Linked DNA regions of Homo sapiens: region 2 is linked to region 1. Evidence: promoter capture Hi-C in 16 types of primary human blood cells and fetal thymus (Javierre and others, 2016). All regions are on one chromosome and are shown on one strand. The core of a region is centred on a gene start or on the middle of the fragment in contact, and the rest is flanking DNA. Distances in the headings are between cores, read along the strand shown. Region 1 holds the start of CARD18 (caspase recruitment domain family member 18). Region 2 holds the start of LINC02552 (long intergenic non-protein coding RNA 2552).

What was found. The method cuts DNA at HindIII sites, captures the fragments that hold promoters and counts their contacts. A CHiCAGO score of 5 or more calls a contact.
Region 2: a fragment that was not itself captured here is called in contact with the fragment with the promoter of CARD18 in region 1 in 3 of 17 cell types (total CD4 T cells, activated CD4 T cells and non-activated CD4 T cells); the score reaches 7.7 in total CD4 T cells.

The regions. Positions count from the first base shown.
Region 1 is chr11:105,135,679-105,143,618 of GRCh38, forward strand. It overlaps CARD18 (caspase recruitment domain family member 18), which reads right to left and starts at 4,091. Exons shown (of 3, transcript NM_021571.4): 1 at 4,042-4,091; 2 at 3,134-3,400; 3 at 2,036-2,420. The coding sequence starts at 4,048. The coding sequence ends at 3,135. The HindIII fragment of the contact is 11,660 bases long and covers 1-5,417 here.
Region 2 is chr11:104,604,032-104,611,971 of GRCh38, forward strand. LINC02552 (long intergenic non-protein coding RNA 2552) reads right to left here and starts at 5,271. Exons shown (of 4, transcript NR_120585.1): 1 at 5,206-5,271. The HindIII fragment of the contact is 1,713 bases long and covers 3,694-5,406 here.

The DNA.
Region 1 (7,940 bases), core at 2,841-5,340:
AGGCCAACACGGGAAAGCTATTGCTTTGTTTTAAATAGAGGTGTAACTTACATGCCCCCAGAATTGTCTGGCTCCAACAGTGGTGGCTCCAAAATACTTTTGTGAGAAGAGCTTATGGATGATTATCTGGTTGAGGTAGGGGAGATTCAAGAGAAGTAAAGGAATTGTTTTGAACTGTGTGTTTTTGTTTTGTTTTGTTTTAGATTCCACTATTTGATCTAGATATACGTTTACTAGGGTTGACTGAAAACACATTGTGTTTAGCTACTTTTCGGCTTCAGGGGATCAAGTCAGGTTAGGTAGTAAAAAAGACTCACAGATTGAGCTACTCCTTTAAGTCTTTCGTTTCAGTGACCTCGCAGACATCACTGCTCATTGCCTGTTGCTGTCCAGCATAAATTATCCCAGGTTCTTAGCAGGGGCACTAATTGACTCTAACAGCTTTACTGAAGGTGAGGATACTCATGAGCTGCCCTAATCCTCACATAAATTATATAGGCTGGACAGACTTTTACAGTCTTGATTTGATTATTTATAGGTTTTGTACTTTATATGGAGTTAAAGAAAAATTATATGGGTTATGATTTTTATTCCCTGGACTTTTATCCTTTACTCTGTATCATGATTCTATGTCTCTATAAAGGAATATACCAATAAAATTATTATACATGCAGGAAAAATGTATTTCTTGCTCATTCATTGGCAAGAACTGGGCTTAGCCCTTTGTAAACCCATTTCATTCTTTCAAAGACTCTATGTGGATGGTGTTTTTAATTCCTTTTTACATATAAGGAATTTGTGCCACAAAAAGGTTAAGATAATTTCCAAATGATCACTGAGCTTATGACAGACCTATCTTCACCTCAAACTTGTTCCCTTGAATACTGAGCATACTGCCAAACTACACTCAAAATGTAAATCCCTGTGTATTATTCCGAGACAATATCTGAAACTGGGCAATTTACAAAAGAAAGAGGTTTAGTGGACTTACAGTTCCACATGGCTGGGGAGGCCTTACAATCATAATAGAAGACAAGAAGGAGCAAGTCACATTTTACATGGAGGGCAACAGGCAAAGAGAGAGAGCTTGTGTAGGGAAACTCCCATTTTTAAAACCATCAGATTTCATGAGACTTATTCACTGTTACAAGAGCAGCATAGGAAAGACCTGTCCCCGTGATTCAGTTATCTCCCGCAGGGTCCCTGCCACAACACGTGGTAATTATGGGAGCTACAAGATGAGATTTGGGTGGGGACACAGAGACAAACAATATCACCCTCAAAATGTGTTTTCTCAAATAAACCAGCTGATTGCAAATGAGAATAGCCCTAACCTTAATCACTTATCTCAAATAAACACTTCCGGTCAGTGGCATATACCTCTTCTGTAGAAGAAAGTAACAAACATTCCCATTTACTGTATTTGGTGTCAACCTATAATAATTATTTTCTCCGTAATTTATGGCTGACAAATTCAGAAAGGAGAGGAATCACATTAAGTTTTATTTTAGTTTGCTAAAGAGCTTGGAAAAAGTGCACAAACCTAAAAAATTCAGGAAATTCTTTTGGCCTTTGTTCCTGGCACCCAATGCTTTGTTAGCACCTATGCCAGAAATTTTAGAAATTGACATGAGCTAACAAATTAGAAGACATCCTGAGGCATCTAGAAGACAATGCTTCATTATTTAACACTATATACACAGGGAAAAGACAGCTTAAGCATAATTAATAGCCAGTGTTTTGCTCTGAAGGGTGCAAAGCGATGACATGCCATCACACTATCTTGACTCCACAAATCTCCATTCCTCAGACATTAAGTCATATCTTGTTTCACCCTGCCCATGTGGACTTGAAATGCTATCAGTGCTTTTATGAACAGTTTTTTTGTGGAAGCCTGATGTCTGGCAATGGAGTATCTGCCATGGATTTTTCTCTATTATTTTCCCAGAAAGGAAGTTGTGTTTATTTTGTTGAGTAATTGTCATAGACCTGGGTCTGAACAACTAGATGAGAACATTACAAAGAAGCAACGCTATTTAAAATTCTGAGCTGGGACTTCATTTTATTCCCATCACAGCAGACTCTCAGTGCTAAAAGCACCAAAGTAAGCTGTACATGTCTCTACAGGATTGCAAAGGAACTAAACAGAAAGGAAGGGAAAGGGAGGGACTTTCTTAATTACATTACAATCATCATGACCTTCATTATTATTGATGAATTATCCTCTGTTGGTATGAGGAGAGAAAGAATAAGAAGAAAGTAATATGAGAGAATGAAAGATTTATTGGAAATTGATGAAATTAATCAGGTTTGAAAAAAGCACTGTTGTTTTGTTTTGTTTTTTTCTTTCACGAGAATATCTTCTCCCTTGGAAGAAGCTCTGGGAAGTCTCTGAAGTGCTCCAGAGTTCCATCTTCTCTCTGTGGAGGGAGAAAAGTGGTATTGGAATGGGCCAGCTCAGATACAAGAGCCTGCATCAGGGCTCTTAGGAGGCCTAGAAATACAAAGGGATAGGCTACAGAGAATGGTCTGTAGACTAGCCCCATGCAAGTAGACCATATTACACAAAAGAAAAGGCAAAGGAGATGACTTCCAACGAGAATCCATATATAATTTCATGCAAATATAATTATTTAGTGCATATTTAATTTTATATACACACTCAATTTATTCTTTGACAATTCCATCATCATTGTATATTCTGAAAAGTACTTAATAGGGAGATGGGGTAAGAGCAGGGTGGTAGGTACAAAAAGAGCTTATACCTTCTCTTCTAATAAATACATGGGCTTCTTAGGCTCAAGAGGGAGTGATATTGTACATTGCTCCCCAGGACCATTAAAAGATTCAGGATAAAACATCTAGGCTCTTTAAATGAACTACAGTAATGATCTACCACCTACATAGAATTAGAGATGAGCTGTGGTCAGCAGGGAGTACTGAGAGAACAGGTACAAGGGACACAAAAACGTAGACAGAAGAGACATAAGCTAGAGCCATGCATAAAGGAATGGAGTCTGAGGCTAAAATGATAGGAACCCTATTATCAACTGACAAGACAAGTGAAGAAAATCATAACTGAATTCAAGATACAGGGCCTATTTGGACATTAGGTTGAATCATTCCACCTTACCTTAGTGCAAACCCATCTTTGAGGCAAGTTGAGGGTCTTCTTCACAGAGATGCTTGATAAATTTGCAGCAAGACTTGGGTCCTTTTCCAGTAACAAGGTCAATCAAGACTCGAGCCTTATCCATGACAGTGTCATTTTCATCTCTCACTTTGTTCATGTCTTCCTGGCTAATAACTTCATCCTCTAATAGGCAATCCAGCAAGGCATTTATTGTGCCTGCACCCACTGAATGGATAAAAATTCTTCTCTTTTTACGCAAGAGTTGGTCTGTTGGAAGCACAAAGATTCCTCAAATAATGAACATGACACAATTTCCCTCTCAATTTACCAACAGGGTAACAATCATTTAAACATTTCTCTCCACAAGTACAGTAATCCCAAGGAACGGTCTTATACCTTTGCATTTACTCCACGTACTTCCTTCTGATTCTAGCATTACCTACATATGCTCACTGAGTGACCTGGGAAACTTGACTTCATGATTTTTCTGTGAATCTCCTAAAAATCAGAAGTCATTCTATTCTGACACATCCCAGTTTCTTGAATTTTGAAGGGAATTGACAGTTTCATGAATTTTGAAGGGAATTGACTGTTTCCTTTGAGAACAACAGCTACTGATACCCATCCTGTGCCCATTCTCATCCTGAACTACATAACTCTTCAAATGTGGACAACACTAGCAAAATTATAGCAGATACCAGTAGGATCCCAGATTCTTCCTGGCCTTTATCTGTTCCTTCAAAAACGCTGTGCAAGTCTGGGCATCTTCCCACCCTGCCTCTCCCTTCTTCTTTCTCTCTCCACCCCAAGGCTGCCCACACAAACCTTCACAAAGCCTAATGAGAAAGGCAGTCCTTTCCCAAACTAATTCCTCCCTAAGACCTATCCTCTTACTGGGGAAGACTCACCAGCCATGGCTCCTCACGTTGGCACTTGCAATGTGTGTTACACTTGCAATGACAGGCAAGGTAGCTCTATCCTTTTAGGCAGGGCGTGTACACAGATCAATGAACAATACTTACACCTACACATGTGTATTTATAATTATTGCCCAAGAAGCTGTTAACTATTGTCATTTCCCAAGGTATTTTTACACAATTGAATCTCAGATTGTAGCATGAACTGTGCCCATAAGAAAATTGCTTTACCATTCCTTGGTGGGTGAGAAACAAGAATAGGAGAGAATTGAGAAGGCACACACAGAGCTAAACACATGCAGTAAACAATCTTTAATTCACTGAGATTTAAATGGAAAGTAAAATCACAGTATAGGGTAGTTGTGCCACCTAAATCAAGTACTAAGAGTTCCTTTTTTAAATTGTGGTAAAATACACATAATATAAAATTTACCATCTTAGCCATTTTACAGTATCCAGTTCAGTGGCATTAAGTACATTCACATTGCTGTGTAGCCATCAATATCATCCAACTGTAGTTGTTTTCATTTTGGGAAATTGAAACTCTATACTCCTTAAACAGTAACTCTCTATCCTTTCCTTCCATCAGTCCCTGGCAACTAACATTGTACTTTCTGTCTTTATGAATTTGACTTCTCTAGGTATCTCATGTAAGTAGAATTATACAGTATTCATTTTTTGATGCCTGACTTATTTCACTTAGTGTAATGTCCTCGGTGTTTATTCATGTTGTGGCATGGGTCACAATTTCCTTTCTTTCTGAAGTTGAATAATACTCCATTCTATGTATGTACCACATTTTAGTTTACCCATTCTTCATTGAGCACAAATTTCTTCCCTTTTGCTATTGTAAATAACACTGCTATGAACATGGTATACAAATATGTTTTTGAGATTCTGCTGTCAATTATTTGAATATATACCCAGAAGTGGAACTGACAAATCATAGAGTAATTCTATTTCATTTTGTTTTGTGAAATCGGTATGCTGTTTTCCATAGCAGCTGCACTGTATTACATTCCCACATATAAAGCAGAAGCGTTCCAGTTTTTCCATGTCCTCACCAATACATATTATTTTTCTGTTCTTTTGATAATAGCCATCCTAATGGGTGTGAGATGGACTAAGACTTCTTACCTTCCTTTCATTGTTTTTTACCTAAGCTCTAGGCAGTCTCCAGACGCAGAAATGGTGTATGAAGCAGTTTTGCTATTTGGAATAAAAGTGCTTTGTTACGTAAGGCTCTTTTTCTTCAGATGGCACCATTTTAAGTAACACTGTATTACAAAGATTAAGGGCACAGACTCTGAAGCCAGAATGGTTGGATCCATATTTTAACTGCTGATCTTAGGAAAGGAAATTAACCAAGCTTTAGTCTTCCCATCTGCCAGATAGGTTTGATGATAATTCCTACCTTGCAGTTTTATTGCAAGTATTTAATGAACAAATATAAGTCATTAAAATAGCCCCTGGCATAAAGGAAGCACCTCAATTATTATATATGTCCATGTAAAATCCCCTATTCATCTCATCAATTCATTCAACATAAATATTCAGCATAGTTATTTACTGAGACCCAAGTCTATGTGCCATACATTATTATAGATGCTGGGGATGTAGTAATGACCAAAAACAGACAAAAATTCCTACCCTATTAGAAGTTGTATGATAGTAGGAGAGACACATATACTCATTAAATGTATACAAAATATTTTAAGAGTTCTTTAAAGAAAAATATTCTCAGAAGATTGGGGGAATCACATCTTTGGTAAAATATTTGTATTAGCTTATATATGTGACATAATTTGATAAATATTTAAAATCTGGGCAAGGTGCTACAGCTTATGTGCCCATGGGCCCAGGAATACACCAAATGAGGTGAATTGGAGAGGGGAGGCTGTGCCTATCTGGTAAGGGTAGTCCTCTCTGAAGGGGCAGGGCTCCTCAGACCCAACTAATTTTGGCTAAGAGAATGAAAATTCAGTTTACTTTTTCATTTTAAGGGTACTTTATCTCTAATTTTAAAAATACTTTCAGTTGGTTTACTATTGTTTTAAAACACTGTGAAAATTAAACAAAGCTTGCCTGTGGTTCACATTTTACCTGAAGTCTGCCAATTTGCTTTCTGCTTTCTTGGCAAATAATTGCATTTATTTTCTTGGGAATAGACATTTCTATCTTGGTAGTATATAGTCAAACATTGTGGAGATTTTAATCTTTGACTTCTTTGACTTTTTTTTCTTTTTCTCCCTACTTTTCCAATCTAGCTTATAGCAGGCTCTGTGTCCTCTTGCTTTAGGGAATATTTATGGCAGGATAGAAATTAGAGATGGTCTGAATGAAACTGGGATCTGGAACAAGAAGAAGACAAATCACAGAAAGAATGGAACATCACTGTGGAAATCACAGAGAGAAGAATATTATCCTGGTTCTCCACCAGCCAGGAAAGCACACCATTCTATGGAAGTACAGGAGATGGTGCCTGACAATAGCTGGTGGCCAACTGATACCTCTAGAAAGCAAAACTGTAAGCACGAGGATTCCCAAACTCACATATGCTTCCCAGATCTCTCAAAGCTAAGCAGAGAACTCTTAGATATGCCACTCTATTGCTGACTTCAAAATGAAAGTGCCCATGATTATAATGTTTGAATGGAAAAGGCAGGATTTCCTTTTCCTGTTTTTCTGGAAAACACTCAAGTATGTGTAAGCCTGGTAAGACTACAAGAAGAGAATAGAGACCTCATAATAACTAAAAGTGGAATTATCTACTACCCTATTTGTAAAGGCACTTACTCCAGAATATAATTTGAATTGAGATATAATTATCATAAAATAAATAAATTACATGATAAGCAACAGGTAGTGTTTTAAAGGATGAGTGATGACTTGAAAATTTAGATCTAGGCTCGTTTCAGATTTCTGGAATTTTATTTGCACTAGCAATTCAGATTTGTCATTAGGAAAAGAGTATTTGTTACTTTTGTGGGAGTAGGGAGCAGTTATGACATGAAAGCATAAGTTATCTAGTTGCCACCTTTACTTATGTCATTTATAACTCTTTGAAGATACTCAATGTTCCATCTTTCATTCCTCTGTTCTTGGGTATAAACATTCTGGAACATATCTAGTGACTATACATTAGTGGGAGCACAAATCAAATGTAAGATTTTTTTTTTCAGAAGCCTTCCCCTCTTCCCAGATTTGGAGTCAAATCACCCATTCAAGTGTACTTTGTTAGTTGCATGAGATGATGAATGACTTAGTTAAAACTATCTAAGCCTCAGTTTCCCCATTCAGACACTTCCCGCATCTATATCATTACTATTCCTAGATTTATTATGACTATTTAAGATAATGTATATAAAATCATTGCCTGGCCATATCTAAAAGAGGCTGCTCTTAAATTAGCAATAGTCTTGAAGGAAGAAGGTACCCTGGTACCTTATATTTCTTTATAAAATGCTTACAGATTTCTCTATAGTAGACAAGATGAAATATATGTCCATTTTATGAAAAATACTAATTACCAGAGGTTCAGAGATGCACCTGGCACAAGGGGCCTCTCACTCAATCCTAGGCTCTGTGTGATATGCTACATGTTCCTCATCCTAGCACTGTGGTTGATTACATGAAGAAAATCAGCTGGTAAAATAGGACTCAGTGCCTGCCCTTGAGGAATTTAAAATAATTTGGCACTGATAAGGCATAAACACAGGAAAATATTGTATGACAATACAGGAGAAAATGGACTAAGATGCTATGAGGTATCAGAGATGGGAGAATTAAATATAATCTGAAGCAATCAGGAAGATTTTACATAGGTAACATAAAATCTTCCCAGAATCTGCAGGATAAAAACGTTTAAATAAGCACTGAAAGAGGTTGCT
Region 2 (7,940 bases), core at 3,300-5,799, 530 kb before region 1:
CAACAAACATGCTTAATTTTGATGGCACATAATTTATTAATCTTTTTCTCATATATATTTGTGGCTTTAGTGGTTTTATATAGGAAATCTTTGCCTAACTCAAGATAACTGTTATCTTCTAGGAATTTTAATAGTTTTAAGTTTTTTGTACATGATGCAAGGTATAGATTAAAGTTCTTTTATTTTTTCGCATGTGAATATACAATTGATCCAACATCGTTTTCGTAAAAGACTATTCTGTCTTCACTGAATTGTCTTTGTACTTTTGTTGAAAATCAATTTCTGGATTCTTCAATGTGTTCCATTTATCCATTTGCCTATCTTGATGCCAATATCATACTTTCTTGATTAATGCAGCTTTTATAGTATGCATTGAAGTCAGCTTGTGTAAGTCATTCAGCTATGTTCTTTTTCAAAGTTATTTGAGCTATTCTAAGTTCTTTGAATTTCCATATGAATATTAGAATTAGATTGTCAGCCTCTATGAAACAAACTACTGGGATTTGACTGAAATTGGATTGAATATGGATCAATTTGTGAATTGCTATTTTAACAATATTGAGTCTTCTCATCTTCAAATACAGACTGTCTCTCTATTTATTTATATTTCATTTAATTTCTCTCATTAATGCTTTATATTGTTTACATTTTTCATTATATTTATCAGTTTTTTATGTATATTATTACAAATACTATTTTTATTTCACATTGTTTATTGTTAGTATATAGAAATACAATTTATTTATTGTATATAAAGTTTGCGCCTTGCAAACTTGCAAAGCTCACTTATTATTTCTAATAGTTTTTTTGTAGATGTCAGTTAATTTTCTACATAGATGATCATGTCTGGAAATAAAATGTTTGATTGTTTCCCAGCTGGGTGCAGTGACTCAAGCCTGTCATCCCAGCACTTTGGGAGCCCAAGGTGGGCAGATCATTGGAGGTCGAGAGTTCAAGACCAGCCTGTTCAACATGGTGAAACCCCGTCTCTACTAAAAATACAAAAATTTGCAGCGCATGATAGTACATGCCTGTAATCCCAGCTACTCAGGAGGCTGAGGCAGGAGAATTGCTTGAACTCGGGGGCGGGGGTTGCAGTGAGCCCAGATTGCACCACTGCACTCCGGCCTGGGTGACAGAGTTAGACTCTGTCTCAAAAAAAAAATCAAAACCACAATGAGATACTACCTCACACCAGTTAGAAAGGCAATCATTAAAAAGTCAGGAAACAACAGATGCTGGAGAGGATGTGGATAAATAGGAACACTTTTACACTGTTGGTGGGAGTGTAAATTAGTTCAACCATTGTGGAAGACAGTGTGGCAATTCCTCAAGGATCTAGAACCAGAAATATCATTTGACCCAGCAATCCTATTACTGGGTATGTACCCAAAGGATTATAAATCATTCTATTATAAAGACACATGCACACATATGTTTATTGCAGGACTATTCACAATAGCAAAGACTCGCAACCAACCCAAATGCCCATCAATAATAGACTGTATCAAAAAAATGTGAGACATACACCATGGAATACTATGCAGCCATAAAAAAGGGTGAGTTCATGTCCTCTGCAGGGACATGGATGAAGCTGGAAGCCATCATTCTCAGCAAACTATCACAGGAACAGAAAACCAAACACTGCATGTTCTCACTCATAAGTGAGAGTTGAACAATGAGAACACATGGACACAGGGAAGGGAACATCACACACCAGGTTCCGTCAGTGGGTAGGGGGCTAGGGGAGGGATAGCATTAGGAGAAATACCCAATGTAGATGATGGTTGATGGGTGCTGCAAATCACCATAGCACGGTATGCCTGCGTAACAAACCTTCACGTTCTGCACATCTATCCCAGAACTTAAATTATAATAATAATAAATTACTTGTTTTCCAATTTGAATGTATTTTATTTATTTTTCTTGCCTTAGTGCACTAACTAGATCCTCCTGTACAATGTTGAAAAGAGCAAATGAAGTTTTCTTGTTCCTTACCTTAGGAGAAAAGCATTTAACCCATAACACAAATATGATATTGTATGTAGGTTTTTATAAGTTCCTGTCTTTTTCTAATGTGCTGAGAGTTTTTATCAGAAATAGATGTTAAATCCGATTGTCTTAGTTTTTTTCTGCATCTATTTAGATTACTGTATATTTTTTCTTTTTAATCTGTTAACATGGTAAATTATATTGATAAATTTCAAATGTTAAACCACTTTTGCATTTTATGGGATAATACATATTTGGTAATGATGCGTTATGCTTTTTCCATATTGTTGGATTCTGTTTTTTTTTTTACATTTAGTTAAGAATTATTATATCTTATGTTCATGCAAAATATCGGTCTCTGATTTTATTTTATTTTATTTATTTTTGAGACGAATTTCACTCTTGTTACCCAGGCTGGAGTGCAATAGTGCGATCTCAGCTCACTTCAATCTCCGCCTCCTGGGTTCAAGTGATTCTTCTGCCTCAGCCTCCGGAGTAGCAGGGATTAAAAGCGCGTGCCACCATACCTGGCTAATTTTTGTATTTTTAGTAGAGATGGGATTTCACCATGCTGGCCAAGATATTCTTGATCTCCTGACCTTGTGATCCACCTGCCTCGGCCTCCCAAAGTGCTGGGATTATAGGCGTGAGCCACCGTGTCCAGCCGGTTTTCTTTTCTTAAAATGCTTTTTTTGTTTGTTTGTTTTAGTGTCAGAGTAATGCTAGCATCATTAACTGATTAGGAAAGTATTCCATACTTTTCAATTTTTGGAAGAGTTTGTATAGAATTAGCATAACTTTTTCTATCAATTATTGAGAGTGGGATATTGAAACCTTAAACTATTTTTTGAATATGTGTCTCCTTGCAGCTTTATCTATTTTCGTTTCATGTATTTTGAAGCTCTGTTACTACTTGCATAAATACTTCACAATGCTATATCCTCTTGATGAACTGACCCTTCTGGATGGTGAAGAAAAATAAAATATTCTTGGCCTAACCTGAGCTCCAAGAATTGTTCCCCTTAGTCCTTCCAGAGGTTCATTCTTCAGTTTCGAGTAGATTTCACCCACACGTGTGCAGATGAGTTCTCTCCTGAAACACTTGAGAAAGACCTGATAGAAATTGCCAGAGTTTTCTCCCCATGCAGCTCTCCCCTCGCTCATGCTCTGTGAACCCTAGCTGCTTTTGTCTGGGAACTCTCAGCTGTCTCCTCAACTCTACAAGAATGCCAGACGCTGCCTGTGTTTCTTATGGCTCACCTAGGTCTAGGAGATTTAACTGATTACTTAATCTTTTATCTAAAACAAACCATACTAATTTGTACAAATACCTTTAATTCTGTGTGAAATTATTTTTATATTCTTTATTTAAGAAAATGTGATGTTGTATCTCTGTCTTAAATCATCAAAAATATAATGACAGAAAAATTAAAAGAAAGAATAACAGAGGAAACATATGGATAACACTTGAATTAATTCACCATTCCAGTGTCAGGAAGATAGTTTCTGCAAACATTTAAAAAATCTATGTATTCTGACGAGTTGATGTCTTGTGATGGTTTTACAAGAAGAATCAAATATAAATATCATGTTGTAAAAGATTAATATGCATGCATCTGCTTTAAATAGAACAAGGCTAAAGAACATTTTGTTCTTGTTACTGCTTCTCAATAAGTTTGGTAGTTCAGTTTAACTCAGGTAAGCTTTCTAAATGTCTAGCATCTTGTCCAAGCTCATAACAAAGATGTTCAAATGCCTTGGCACCCTCCTATTATTATTCCTTCCTGCTCTCCTCATAACCTTTTATTTTCTCATTTTTCATTTAACCATTCCTGGACCTCACTCTCATCTTGCAATATCTAATAAGCCTTTACTAAGGACTGAACATGTGAGGGCCAGATTTGTGAACTGGACTTTTCTCTCTGTAGATTTTTCAATTAGGTTTTCACAATGCCCTAGTTTCACTGAGTCAGTAAAACTCCCAGATGTTTCCATTCTTTATGTATCTCTCCTTGTATCCCTCATCTCTGTCATAATTTTAGAGACCCTCTTGACATTTAAAAAATTTGGAAACAACAGTTTCTTATTTCTGCCTAAGAAGACTTAAGATATTTCTGTAAAGATTTGGTTGGACACATATAGACATTTATTCCAAATTAAATCAGTGGTCTTCTTCAGATTGAGTTCCAAGCTGTAAACTTCAAAGGATAAGTTCTGCTTTACTAACTGTAATGCCAAACCAATTATTTTATAAAAACAATTAAATTGTCATGAACATAAGATTTCATATCCTGAAAGAATAGGAATAAGTTCTATTTTCACAATTAGTTTTCTATGTATAGTCCTCAACCACAATGCCTGTGAACCACCATCCTGGGAAATAAACTTTTCTTGAGATCTCAAAGCAAATGAAGACAAGTAACCAGCATGGCACAAATGCTTCTCTGCTACTACGTGGATTCTTTTATAGACACTGATTATATATTAAGATATTAATTTTATCCATTTACACTCATCAAAAAAGAAATATATGGTCCACATACTTAAATTCAACTTCTTTCTTAGAGGCAATGGACTAAGTACAATCACAAGCAATAGACAAACATCATAACTTTAATTTTTGGCTGTAAAAATGGAATAAAAACAGTAATTGTATTCATCATCGCTTGATGAAGTCTTTAAAATGTTACTTTTATTCTAGGAAGAATGTAGGCAACCTCTAAAGGGTTGATGTGGCAAGAAAGACACTGATATTTTTTCTGGGAAAAAAATACCTTGGCTCTGAACGAAAAAGAATATTGCTGAAATTATAGTTAGGAGCCTAGTTCTCCTATTGTTAGAGCTCTTTTAGGACATTTTATGATATTTTCTACAAGCACAGGACTGTGGCTATTTAGCTTGGTTTCTATTATGCCTTTCTTGGCATCATGTAGGATAACTAGCACATCTTATAGGACACCAGTGAAAGACAAAATAGACAACACAAAAATCGTATGGCATTCCTCAAACTGTTTTATGTGAAAAAGAAAGGCTGTCTTATACTATTCAAATCCCTAGACGAATATGTCAAAATAAGAGTACGAGAGGAAGGGGTTATTTCAAGGATATCCCACATATAGACAACATGGTGCATTGTGACATCGTTATATAAATATTAATAGTGCCAGAATACTAATCCCTTCATCGGGGAGGAAATATTCTAAATTCACTTACCTCTTGCAGCACTTTCCTACATAGTACTGTAGACACAGCCCATTGGCATCCTAGAGATGGCATTCTGAAGAGAAAGCAGGATCTCAACTCCTCTCAAGGTGTTCCTCCCTCCCTTGAAGGTCAGGATGTCTTGTGCTGGCACATCCTTTGGTGGGTCAGTAGATGGCAGTGTGTCTGAATCTAGTATGTATGGTAGGGGAAAGCTTTTTAGCATTTCCCAAGAAAATGAAGGTTTTGAAAGCTGTGAGGCAGCATGGGGCCTAGTGCATGGGCCAGAAGACTTGATCTTTATTTCTGGCTCAACTCCTGAATACATTTACTTGAGTAAATGGACACCAGCCACTTAACTTTTGTGTTCTTTGCTTTCTTGAACTTGAAATTAGACAAAATACTCTGCCTCTTCCCATCTCCCTCACAAGGACCCTGTGAGTTTAATCAGACTTCAGATTAGTTTCCGTTCTTTGAAGAAAAGACTCCTTATGAATTTGCTATGCTATTTATAATGTCAGTGGCAAAATTGATCTGGGTTGTTCTTCTGGGACTTGAAGTAAATAAACACAGAGGCATTTGGCAAGAAGGATCTTCTGTATTTCTGTGCCATAAAATGTTGGTGTATTTTGGTTTTAAGTAGCAGCACTGGATCTCAGGATGCAAAATTATTCTTGTTACTTGGAATTAAAATAACTTCCTCCATTCCATGGAACTTGACAATTACGGAAGGAAGCCAATAGGCCTCTGGCACCTTCCCAATTTAAATTTAAACTGTTCACTGCAAGTACAGATTCAATCAGATACAATCATTTTCACTTTTCCCTGCTATTAAACATAAGAATTTTCACTTCAGCATTTTACTACAAAGGTGGCACTCTGATAAATGTTAAATGAAATGGTAAGTAGGAAATACCATTGAAGGGTTGAAAGATGATTCTTTTTCCCAACAAGATCCAGCTGTGCATGAATTCACTGGAAGTTAGAATAGTTAGAATCCTCAACCAAAACATACCTTCAGCTGCATGGCACCAAAATGGGTCATGACAAGATCATGTTGGGGCAAAACAAACTTTAACATCTCACCTGTCAACCTGGCTCTGGTCACGATCAAAGCTAAGCTTCTTTGAAGAAGCCTTGCTACTTTGAGGCTGGTAACAAGGATCAAAAAGGGATACAATAAATAATACTATTTCTGGACAGGTAGATTCTGATAGGGAGGTCTAGCGTATTTCTAATACAGATGCCTACCTCATCTGGTCTTCTTGGAAACAAAAAATTATATTGTGTAGGATAGCCAGAAATCTACCTGCTATATAAAAAGATAAAATTGTAAAATGAAATGGATGTCATGTTTGAACACATGCCATACCATCATTTTTAGGTAGCAGCCTTTCAGGATATAGACAAATATATTTGGGATGGTTTCTGGGTGTATAATCCATTGGAAAAGCTATTTTAATATAAAAATTCACTGTCAAAATATTAATAAACAACTAGTCTTTTTTCAAATCTCTTGTGCAATAAACATAGATTCAAGACAAGTGATTTTTGTCGTGTCATCTTATTTGTAAGACATGTCTCTCTAGTTGGATAGTGATTGGCTTGTTGGTTTGAACGTCAGGAGGTTAAAATCTTAATTTAAATATGCATTAGTATTAAAATATGTTCAAGAGAATGTCACATCAACCTCAACCTCAAAGTACCAATTATGTTGTTTGGGTTCCACATTTGACACTGTTCTGACTAAACTGATATCCCCCGTTCAGAATTTCTAAAAATGCCTCAGATCTCAGTTTCATAATACATTCTATGTAAAGTAGAAACATTAAGAAAAACTGAATTATAGAAACATAATTTCATAGTTTCAAGGACATAGAAGTCAAAGCATACTGCTTGAAGCTAATGAACAATTATAAAGATGTAGAAGCCAGCACATTATTAGCATTAGGTTAGAAGAAATAGACAATTCTGTAACCACTCAACAGGATGGATTCAAAACAAAGAAATTGTTAAGTTTGGAGTTTAATTATAAACACTAATTTGTAACTTGGATGAGAACAGTAACTGTTTTTAATCCTTAGCCAGTGTTTTATTTTTTTCCCTGAAGCCGCTTATTGAAGAAAATAAATGACGCAGGAAAAGCAAGGGGAATAACTAATAACCAACATTTTATGCATATATATGTGTAGAACTTAAGTGAGAAAAAAACTGATGGCACCATAGTCAATTTAAATAAGATAAAACGTATCAATCAAGCAGTCAACCATAAATCTCTAAGAAACAAGAAGCCCATGTACAAATTCACGGAAACATGGTAATTGATCTTTGTTGATAACGTTGAAGCACTTTGTGATTCAGAAAAAAAAACAAATTTGGAAGTTATCGTATACATAATATGGTTTTACACATAATATTATGTATATTTTATTACATTTTATATTTTTAGATATTATTCATACCCAATTTGTGGCAATCCTGTGAATCCGATCATTGGTAAGTTAGAATAGTTCTTTCCAGGTAATTATTTTTAATTTACTATTTTCAAATAATTTTAAACTTTGGTAAAGTGGTTTGCAGAGATAGTTGCTCTGACAGGCTGTAAATCGGTTTAGTAGCTACCTAACAGCATGGAATATAAGAATGTGCTCGGCGTGTTAACTGTATACATCAATTTCTTAAAAGCTAAAATATCTATATAAAAATAAGGTGCTTTAGGAAAAGAAGGCCATTGGAAGACCCATGAA